Regions from separate parts of the Homo sapiens genome. Here region 1 is linked to region 2. Evidence: promoter capture Hi-C in human tissues and cell types (Jung and others, 2019). All regions are on one chromosome and are shown on one strand. The core of a region is centred on a gene start or on the middle of the fragment in contact, and the rest is flanking DNA. Distances in the headings are between cores, read along the strand shown. Region 1 overlaps FKBP5 (FKBP prolyl isomerase 5). Region 2 holds the start of MAPK13 (mitogen-activated protein kinase 13).

Region 1 (4,739 bases), core at 528-3,027, 530 kb before region 2:
TGGAACTGAATAACATTTATGCAAATGATTTCTTTTGGTTGATCAAGTTTGAATGTTTTCAAAACAGGAAATCTAAACAAGAAGTATACACCCAGCAACAAATTCTCCATGAACACCAACCCTTACCAGTCTTCCCTTCACACCACTATAGCACTTGAGTTAGACCTGGATTCCAGTCCCATTCTGCCACTTCAATTATGACTTTGGGCAAGGTAATTAAAGTGATCTGAAGCTCAGTTTCTTCACTGATAGAATGTGGATAATACACTAGCTAAATGATAATTGTTGAGAGGATTAAATTAGATACTGAATTAGAGCTTTTAATCTAGCACCTGATATTCATTCATTCATTCATTCATATGTCAGGGTGTCTATCATGTGAAAATGCTGTTGTTAAGTGTGGATATACAGAGACAAACTAAAGGAATGTTAGCTATAATTATTTTCCTGTGCCTAGTGGTAAATTATACCAGATTAAACATGTTTTAGAGCTCTGTGTAAGAAAACATTTACTGGTTCAACACAGAAAGCTGTCAAAGTATGAATAAAATTCTTAGTAGGCAAAGGCAGTATCTTGTACTTCTTTTGTGCCTCACAGTACCCAGCACAGAGTTCAGGGCCAGCAAGTAAATATTTATTTAATGACTAATCTTAAAATAGGGCATTAAGGACAGGGTGGTAATTTTCACTAATTTATACAAATTTTCCTTTTTGAATCTATTAGTATTCCTATTTTAATAAATTCTAGGAAGCTATACAAATTTTATATTGATATGGAAACTTTGTTTTTTAATACTATTCTAAAATAAATGGCCAATTGGCTGGAATTTTTTTTTTTTTTGTAACAACAACAACAGCAGCAGCAGCAACAAAAGACTGTTTTCTTTCTTTTTTTGAGACAGAGTCTCGTTCTGTTGCCCAGGCTGGAGTGTAGTGGCGTGATCTTGCCTCACTACAACCTTCACTTACTGCAACCATCTGCCTCCCGAGTTCAAGGACTTCTTGTGCCTCAGACTCCCAAGTAGCTGGGACTACAGGCCCGCACCACCATGCCCAGCTAATTTTTGTGTTTTTAGTAGAGATGGGGTTTCGCCATGTTGGCCAGGCTGGTCTTGAACTCCCGACCTCAAGTGATCCTCCAGCCTTGGCCTCCCAGAGTGCTGGGATTACAGGTGTGAGCCACCGTGCCCGGCCTCTTTATTGTTTTTGTTTTGAGTTGGGGGTCTCACTTTGTTGCCCAGCCTGGAGTGCAGTGGTGTGATCATGGCTCACTGCAGCCTCACACTCCTGGACTCAAGCTACTCTCCTTCCTCAGCCTCCCTAGTAGCTGGGACTACAGGCACACACCACCACGCCTGGCTATTTTGTTGTTGTTGTTGTTAAGAATGGGGTCTCACCATGTTGCCAGGCTGGTCTTGTACTCCTGGCCTCAAGCAACCCTCCCACCTTGGCTTCCCGAAGTGTTGGGATTACAAGCGTGAGCCACCATGGCTGGCCAGAAAGACTTATTTTCTACTATGATTTTATTCTACCTGAAGACTTGAAGATAACTTTTTGGAAGAAAGAAATTATATAAATCCAAAATATTTGAAAGAATAAACACTGGCCACTTTAGACCAAGTACCATATTACATTATTTTGTGAAAACATATAATAAAATGGTTTCAAGAATTTGCTCCTATTCCTAGACTTATATCCCAGGACATTCATAAATACTTCAAAAGCATATGAAAAACAAAAATGTAAAGTCTCACAGCTCCATCAGATCTCAATATGGGCAGACGTAATCTTTCCTCTATTTTCAATTTTTGGTACCTTTTTGATTTTAGTGTTTCATTTATAAAGAACACATAGCTAGATACTGTTGTTGTTCTCACTTTATGAGACCTTTTGCCTTTAATAGGTGACTTTATCCCATTCATATTTTTTGTAATCACTGATATGAGTGGTTTTATTCTTGTCTTTGGTTTTCTACACAGTGTTTTCTTTTTTTTTTTGAGATGGAGTCTCGCTCTGTTGCCCAGGCTGGAGTGCAGTGGTGTGATCTCGGCTCACTACAACCTCCACCTCCCGGGTTCACGCCATTCTCCTGCCTCCCAAGTAGCTGGGACTACAGGCGCCCGCCACCATGCCCAGCTAATTTTTTGTATTTTTAGTAGAGATGGGGTTTCACCATGTTAGCCAGGATGGTCTCGATTCCTGACCTCGTGATCCACGTGCCTCGGCCTCCCAAAGTGCTGGGATTACAGGCGTGAGCCACCGTGCCCGGCCCGTGTTTTCTTATTTTTTAAAACAATTTTTGCTCAATTGATGAAGTTTTCCTTGTTCCTCTATTTCCCCACTCCACATGGGGTGATTTGGAAATTCTACATGCTATTCTTACTAGTACTTTCCATTAAAGTCTGAACAAATCATTTAAAGATATATATATATACCTCTTTATCAATGTTCAGAATCAATCAGCATAAAGCATTCAATAAAATCCAACATCCCTTCATTATAAAAAACCCTCAATAAACTAAGCATCAAAGGAACATACTTCAAAATAATAAGAGCCACCTATGACAATATCTTTTTTTTTTTTTTTTTTTTTTTTTTTTTTGAGACAAGGTCTTATTCCATTGCCCAGGCTGGAGTGCAGTGGTGCAACCATAACTCACCGAAGCCTGTATCACCCAGGCTCAAGTGATCCTCCTGCATCAGCCTCCCAAGTAAGCTGGGACTACAGGTGCATGCCACTATGTGTGGCTAATTTTTTTTATTTTTAGTAGAGACAAGGTTTCACTATGCTGCCCAGGCTGGTCTTGAACTCCTAGGCTCATGCAATCCTCCTGCCTCGGCCTTCCAAAGTCTTGGGATTACAGGTGTGAACCACTGCACCCAGCCGTCAATATCATACTGAACGGGCAAAAGTTGGAAGCATTCCGCCTAAGAACTGGAAAAAAACAGGGTGTCCACTCTTAACAACTCCTATTCAGCATGGTACTGAGCCACAGCAATCAGTATGCGGCAAGTCCTAGCCTGAGCAATCAGGCAAGAGAAAGAAATAAAAGGCATCCAAATAGGAAACCAGACGTCTACCTCTCACCATATACAAAAACAAACTCAAGATGGATTAAAGGCTTAAATGTAAGGCCTGAAACTATATAAATCCTAGAAGAAAAGCTAGAAAATACTCTTCTGGACATTGCCTAGGCAAATAATTTATGATTAAGTCCCCAAAATCAAATGCAACAAAAAGAAAAACTGACAGTTGGGACCTAATTAAAGAGCTTCAGCACAGCAAAATAAGCTATCAACGAAGCAGATGGACAAACTACAGAATGGGAGAAAACATTTGCAAATTATGCATCTGACAAAGGACTAATATCCAGAAAAGAACTTAAACAAATCAACAAGAAAAAAGCAAATAGCCCCATTAAAAAGTAGGCAAAGGACACGAAGAAGCAGCCAACGAACATGAAAAAATGCCGAACATCACTAATCATCAGAGAAATGCAAATCAAAACCACAATGAGATACCATCTCACAACTGAGTCAGAATGACTATTAATAAAAAGTCAAGGCCGGGCGCTGTGACTCATGCCTTTAATCCCAGCACTTTGGGAGGCCGAGGCAGGCAGATCATGAGGTCAGGAGATCGAGACCATCCTGTCTAACACGGTGAAACCCCGTCTCCACTAAAAATATTTTAAAAAATTAGCCGGGCGTGGTGGTGGGCGCCTGTAGTCCCAGCTACTCGGGAGGCTGAGGCAGGAGAATGGCGTGAACCTGGGAGGCGGGAGTTGCAGTGAGCCAAGATCGCGCCACTGCACTCCAGCCTGGGCAACAGAATGAGACTCCGTCTCAAAAAAAAAAAAAAAAAAAAAAAAAAAAAAAAAAAAAGTCAAAAAAGAACAGATGTTGGCAAGGTTGTGGAGAAAAGGGAATGCTTAAACAGTGTTGATGAGAATGGAAATTAGTTCAGCTCCTGTGGAAAGCAGTTTTGGAAATTTCTCGAAGAACTAAAAATCAAAGTACCATTTGACCCAGCAATCCCATTACTGGGTATACAACCAAAGGAAAATAAATCGTTCTATCAGAAAGATAGCTGGCATTTACACTGACATGTTTACTGCAGCATTGTTTGTGTGTTTGTTTGTTTTTTGAGACAGAGTCTCACTCTGTTGCCCAGGCTGGACTGCAGTGGCAGAATCTCAGCTGACTACAACCTCCACCTCCCAGGTTCAAGCAATTCTGCCTCAGCCTCCCAAGTAGCTGGGACTACAGGCGCCCACCACCACACCCAGCTAATTTTTGTATTTTTAGTAGAGGCAGGGTTTCACCATGTTGGCCAGGCTGGTCTTGAACTCCTGACCTCAAATGATCCACCCACCTCAGCCTCCCAAAGTGCTAGGATTACAGGCATGTGCCACCACGCCCAGCCTGTTTTGTTTTGAGACAGGGTCTCGCTTTGTTGCCCAGGTTAGACTGCAGTGGTATAAATGTGACTCAAATGATCCTCCCACTACAGCCTCCTGAGTAGCCGGCACTACAGGCATGCACCACCATGCTTGGCCTTTTTTTTTTTTCTGTAGAAATGGGGTCTTACTATGTTGCCCAGTTTGGTCTTAAACTCCTGGGCTCAAGTGACCATCCCACCTTGGCCTCCCAAAGTGCTGGGATTACAGGCATGAGCCACACACAGCACTTACTCTTAAGCACAGTTATATTCTTAATAGCAAAGACACGGAGTCAAC
Region 2 (4,956 bases), core at 481-2,980:
AGCCCCTAGCAAATTTCTTTCCTTGTTCAATAGACCTTCTTTTTGACAAAGTGAAGCAGGTGGTCCCCGCCCCTTCCACAGCCCCATGCCTGGGCAAGAGAGGGGTTGGACAAGTCAGGCTGGGCATCCAGAGCCCTTGCAGCCATCTCCTCCCCCCACCTGCCCACCTTGCTCCTCAGAGGCCTTTGTGGTTTGAGCAAAGAATCTCCATCAGGCTGCACAGGCCACCAGACAGGTGGCAAGGGCCCCAATTAGTCATTGTCCTCATAGAGCCTTAGGAAGTCCACAGAAACTGTGTTCAAAACTGCACATTTGGGCCAGGTGCGGTGGCTCACTTCTGTAATCCAAACACTTTGGGAGGCTGAGGTGGGCGGACCACCTGAGGTCAGGAGTTGAAGACCAGCCTGGCCAACATGGTGAAACCCCGTCTCTACTAAAAATACAAAAATTAGCTAGGAGTGGTGGTGTGCACCTGTAGTCCCAGCTACTCAGGAGGCTGAGGCAAGAGAATTGCTTGAACCTGGGAGGCGGAGGTTGCAGTGAGCTGAGATGGCGCCACTGCACTCCAGCCTAGGCAATAGAGTGAGACTCCATGTCAAAAACAAACAAAAATCCTGCACATTTGAACCTGCGTGGATATTTGGTATTATAGAATTAGTGCTATTAATTTTAGGTTTAAGAATGTATTGTGGGCCAGGCGCGGTGGCTCACGCCTGTAATCCCAACACTTTCGGAGGCCGAGGCGGGTGGTTCACGAGGTCAGGAGTTCAAGACCAGCCTGGCCAAGATGGTGAAACCCCATCTCTATTAAAAATACAAAAATTAGCCGGGTTTGGTGGCAGGCACCTACAATCCTAGCTAATCGGGAGGCGGAGGCAGAGAATTGCTTGAACCCGGGAGGCGGAGGTTGCAGTGAGCCGAGATGGCAACTGCACTCCGACAGAGTCTCAAAAAATATATATATATAGTATTGTGGATACGTACTTTTAAAAATCCTTACGTTTTAGAGATACAAAAATATTTATGAATAAAATGATATGACGCCTGGGTTTTGCTTCAAAACGATGGTGGGAGAGGAATGTGGATGAAATAAAATTGATTATGAGTTGTGGTTGCTGGGGAATTGGGGTCACGGGGGTTCATTAGAACCTCCTATCAGATGTGGTTCAGAAGCCTCAGACCTGGGAGCTGGCTAGAAATGCAGAATCTCGGCTCCACCCCAAACCTACTGAGTCAGGATCTGTATTTTAATCAAATAAAATGCCCAGGGGATTCCTGAGCACACTGAAGTGTGAGAAGCGCTGGCTTACTCTGTTCAATTCTTTCCTGCATGTTTGACATTTTCCATAATGAAGAGGTTGTGGGGTTTTGTTCTGCTTTCCTGTGTGTTCACAGTCACAGGGAGCTCTTCCTACGGAGACCGGGGCTGGAGGGAACTGGGAAGCACTGCCTCCCCGCTCCTGCTTGGACCCACCAGCCCCGCCGCTGGCCCGCGCTCGGCTGGGAGGCACCGGGGTCCCGCTGGGCAGCCCCGACCCCGTGCCTGGGCCGCACCTGCCGCAGTGGCTCCGTCGGGCCGGGCGGAAGCGCGGGAGCGCAGGGCTGGACAGGCCCGGGCGTGGCGGCCCCGGCGCACCTGGGCGAGCCGGCAGGTGGGAGCGTAGCAGCCCGGGGCCCCCGCCCTCGCGCGGGGGAGGAGCGGGCGGCGCGGGGCGGGCGCAGCGGGGGTCGGGGCGCTGGGAGCCCGTTGGGCCGCGAACGCAGCCGCCACGCTGGGGCCGCCGAGATCGGGTGCCCGGGATGAGCCTCATCCGGAAAAAGGGCTTCTACAAGCAGGACGTCAACAAGACAGCCTGGGAGCTGCCCAAGACCTACGTGTCCCCGACGCACGTCGGCAGCGGGGCCTATGGCTCCGTGTGGTGAGACCCCTGGGCCGCTGGGGGGCGGGGGGCGGGCGCCAGGCTCTCCCCTTTCCGCCCAGCCCGCCCTGGGCTGGCCCCTCGCCAGCGCCACCTTGACCGCGGACCTCAAGGCCCAGCGCCCTCCCCGGGGCCACCCAGCGGCCATCTCCCTTTTCTCACCGAGTGGCTGAGTGAGGTCTCTGGGGGTTGAGTTGGGACTGGGCCTGGTTCTCCAGGACTGTACACTTGCAAGACCCCAGAGTTCATCGGGCAGATCCTCACTGTTACAGACGAGTACACCGAGGCCCCAAGAGGGGGAGGTGGCTCGCCAAGTTGCAGACAGAGTGAGACTCCCGCCCTGCCGTGGATCCCGTCGCAATGAGACGTTGCTGCCCCTGGCGCTGTGCCCCTCTCTCAGCTCCTGCCTGGCTTCCTACTCCCTGCCCTGCGTCCCGCGGCTCCCCCATATTCTAGGTGGTGGGCCTAGTCCCCTCTCAGCCCAGCTGCCCAGTGGGAGGGGTCAGGGCGGTCTGGGAGATACGGCCCAGGAGGAGAGCCTCGCCTGCTGACCGGCCTGTGCCCGACAGCTCGGCCATCGACAAGCGGTCAGGGGAGAAGGTGGCCATCAAGAAGCTGAGCCGACCCTTTCAGTCCGAGATCTTCGCCAAGCGCGCCTACCGGGAGCTGCTGCTGCTGAAGCACATGCAGCATGAGAACGTAGGTGGTGGCTGCCCCGGGGAGGGGGTGGGGGCTGCCCTGGGGAGTCAGGGGCAGGCGCAGGCGGGGCCTCCCGGTATGGAGAGCTCGGGACAGTCTCCTCCCTGCTCCCCTGACGGTGCCTCTCGCCTCACTATTGAAAGGAGGGGGTGCCGAGACCTTCCCTGCCCACTTTCCAGGAAGAGGTCAAAGGGTATTTTTGGCAGAATGCACTTTGTGAGGTACAGACTGTGTTATCCTACAGAGGAAATTGGCACAGGGGAACTTTGTAATTGGTTCCATGTCTGAGAGCTTGTGGCCAGCTGGGACTAGAATCCTAGTTAGCGTTGTGTCCACGTGACCCTGATAACAATAGCAATATACACATATTGAGCACTTCCTATGTTCTAAGAGCTCTGCATACACTAACTTGTCTAGTCCTCATGATATATGAGTACTACTGCCCCCATGTCACAGACAGGAAACTAAAGCACAGCAAGGCTCACAGATTAGATGGTTAGTCAGTAGCAGAGCTGGGGTTTCAATCTCGGCAGCGAGGCTCCCGGTCTGAGCACATGACCATCAGATTGTCTTGTCTGATAGAAGCAGCTGGGAAAACCAGGGGCCCAGCTCAGGGCCTGGCAGCCAGGCTTTGCTGCAGGATACCTAGATTGGAGGGCAGACATTTCAAAGAATGATTTCAAAATGTTATGTACATTTTAAGCCCATCCTTCTCCAGCAAACCCCTCCCCTATGGCCTCCAGCCAGGGTGATCTTGCCCTTGGCTCTGAACCAGCCCTGTGGCAGGCAAGGATGGATGTGGCTGGAGACCCAAGGTCAGGGGCAGGGAGTTTGCTGGCTGAAAAGCTCCTTCTCTGTTCCCTCCTTTTTCCCTTCCACCCTCCCCTTATGCTTTCCTGCTGCCTAGGTGAGTTGAGAGTGGGTTTGTGTTGCTTGCCCTGACACCAGACTTGACAGCAATGAGCACACATCATTCTCCCCACCTTCCCTTCTCCCCAGCCTGACTCTCTGTCATGATTTATTGCAAACTCCCTCCAAATCCAGGGGATTCCTCTAGGCCTCTGCCCTTTTTACTGCTTCCAAGAAGGTTGGAGACATGCCTCCTGCTGGAGGTGGTGTATTAGGAAAGGGTGGATGGCCCTGTGCATGGCCAGGGCCCAGGAGGAGGTGGGAGGAGAAGGTAGCGTCTGTCTAGCCCTCACAGGTGACTTCTTCCCCAGGTCATTGGGCTCCTGGATGTCTTCACCCCAGCCTCCTCCCTGCGCAACTTCTATGACTTGTGAGTTGGGCTGCACTGGGTTCTGGGGCATTTGCAGGCCTTACATGCCGCTGGGGAGCAAGGTGGGGGAGGGTCTAGGGTTTCTATTCCGGGTGTGGCGGGGAGAGCCTCCTTCCCTGGCAGTCCTGTGCCTTTGCCTGTCAAGTGTGATTCTCTCTGGAAAGATGCTTTTAGCCAAAGGCAGGCAGGAAGAGGCAGGAAGGACTTTGTGGGGTGCTTGCCTGGCAGGGGGCAGTCTGCACAGCTGCTTTGCTTTTTACCCAGCTTTAACACCATGAAGACACATCTGCCAGTCCTCACAGGGTTAGCACCAACTCACCTTTCCTGGGGACACAGATGTGAGTCTGGACCTTGGAGCTCTTTCTAGCATGAAGCAAGGATTAAGAAGCCTTGGCTGCCTCTGGCTGATGGGGGTGTTTGACAGAATGGCAGAAAACCAGAATATTTAGCTGCAAAATGTATAGCTTTGCCTGTGCAGTGTCTGAATGAGACTGGACTATTTGGACAAGATGGAGAAGTCAGTGTGGCACGTGGAGGCCAGCAGCTGGCTTGGTCAAGCTGAATCTGGACTGACCCTACAGGCAGCCTCAAGACCTGGGGACTTTGAGCCGGGAGGTGATATGTTCAGATGGGATTTGGGGGATGCACACTGGCAGCAGCAAGAAAGGAGTAGGAAGCAGCTCGGAGGCAGAGGGGGAGAGCCTGGAGGTCAGTGTTAGTGATCTAAAGTAGGGATCTAAAGCAGAGGTGATGGGATGCCAAGAGCAGACTTGAGGCCCCATTTGGGAGGCAGGGCCGACACAATGTTCCATCTGTTGGGGTGCAGTAGCTGAGTGAGGTGGCAGAGGTGGAGGAATGGGCAGGTTCCTGCTTGAAATACACGGTAGAGGAAGAACAGATCTTGGGGGAAAGATAACGAACTCCATTTTGGACACTTTACTTTTAAAGAAACTGTGAACATTCCAATGTTTAATCACAGTTGCAAATAAATATGAACCTCAGGAGACGAAGGTCTGGGCTAGGGATGTGGATTTGTGCTGGAATAATCACCGATGGGTT

The links. Contacts are between HindIII fragments. The study calls those that stand out against the background at their distance.
Region 1: a contact is called between a fragment that was not itself captured here and the fragment with the promoter of MAPK13 in region 2, in 1 of the 25 tissues and cell types used here (IMR-90 fibroblasts).

Annotation. Positions count from the first base shown.
Region 1 is chr6:35,602,812-35,607,550 of GRCh38, forward strand. All of the region lies in intron 5 of FKBP5 (FKBP prolyl isomerase 5), which reads right to left. Among named protein-coding and RNA genes, the nearest start is that of MIR5690, 60 kb to the right of the region's middle. The HindIII fragment of the contact is 9,658 bases long and covers 1-4,739 here.
Region 2 is chr6:36,128,783-36,133,738 of GRCh38, forward strand. MAPK13 (mitogen-activated protein kinase 13) reads left to right here and starts at 1,731. Exons shown (of 12, transcript NM_002754.5): 1 at 1,731-1,919; 2 at 2,489-2,618; 3 at 3,839-3,897. The coding sequence starts at 1,801. RefSeq lists silencers at 1,627-1,876, 1,917-1,986, 2,627-2,736 and enhancers at 1,882-2,485, 2,377-2,496, 3,207-3,456. The HindIII fragment of the contact is 28,110 bases long and covers 1-4,956 here.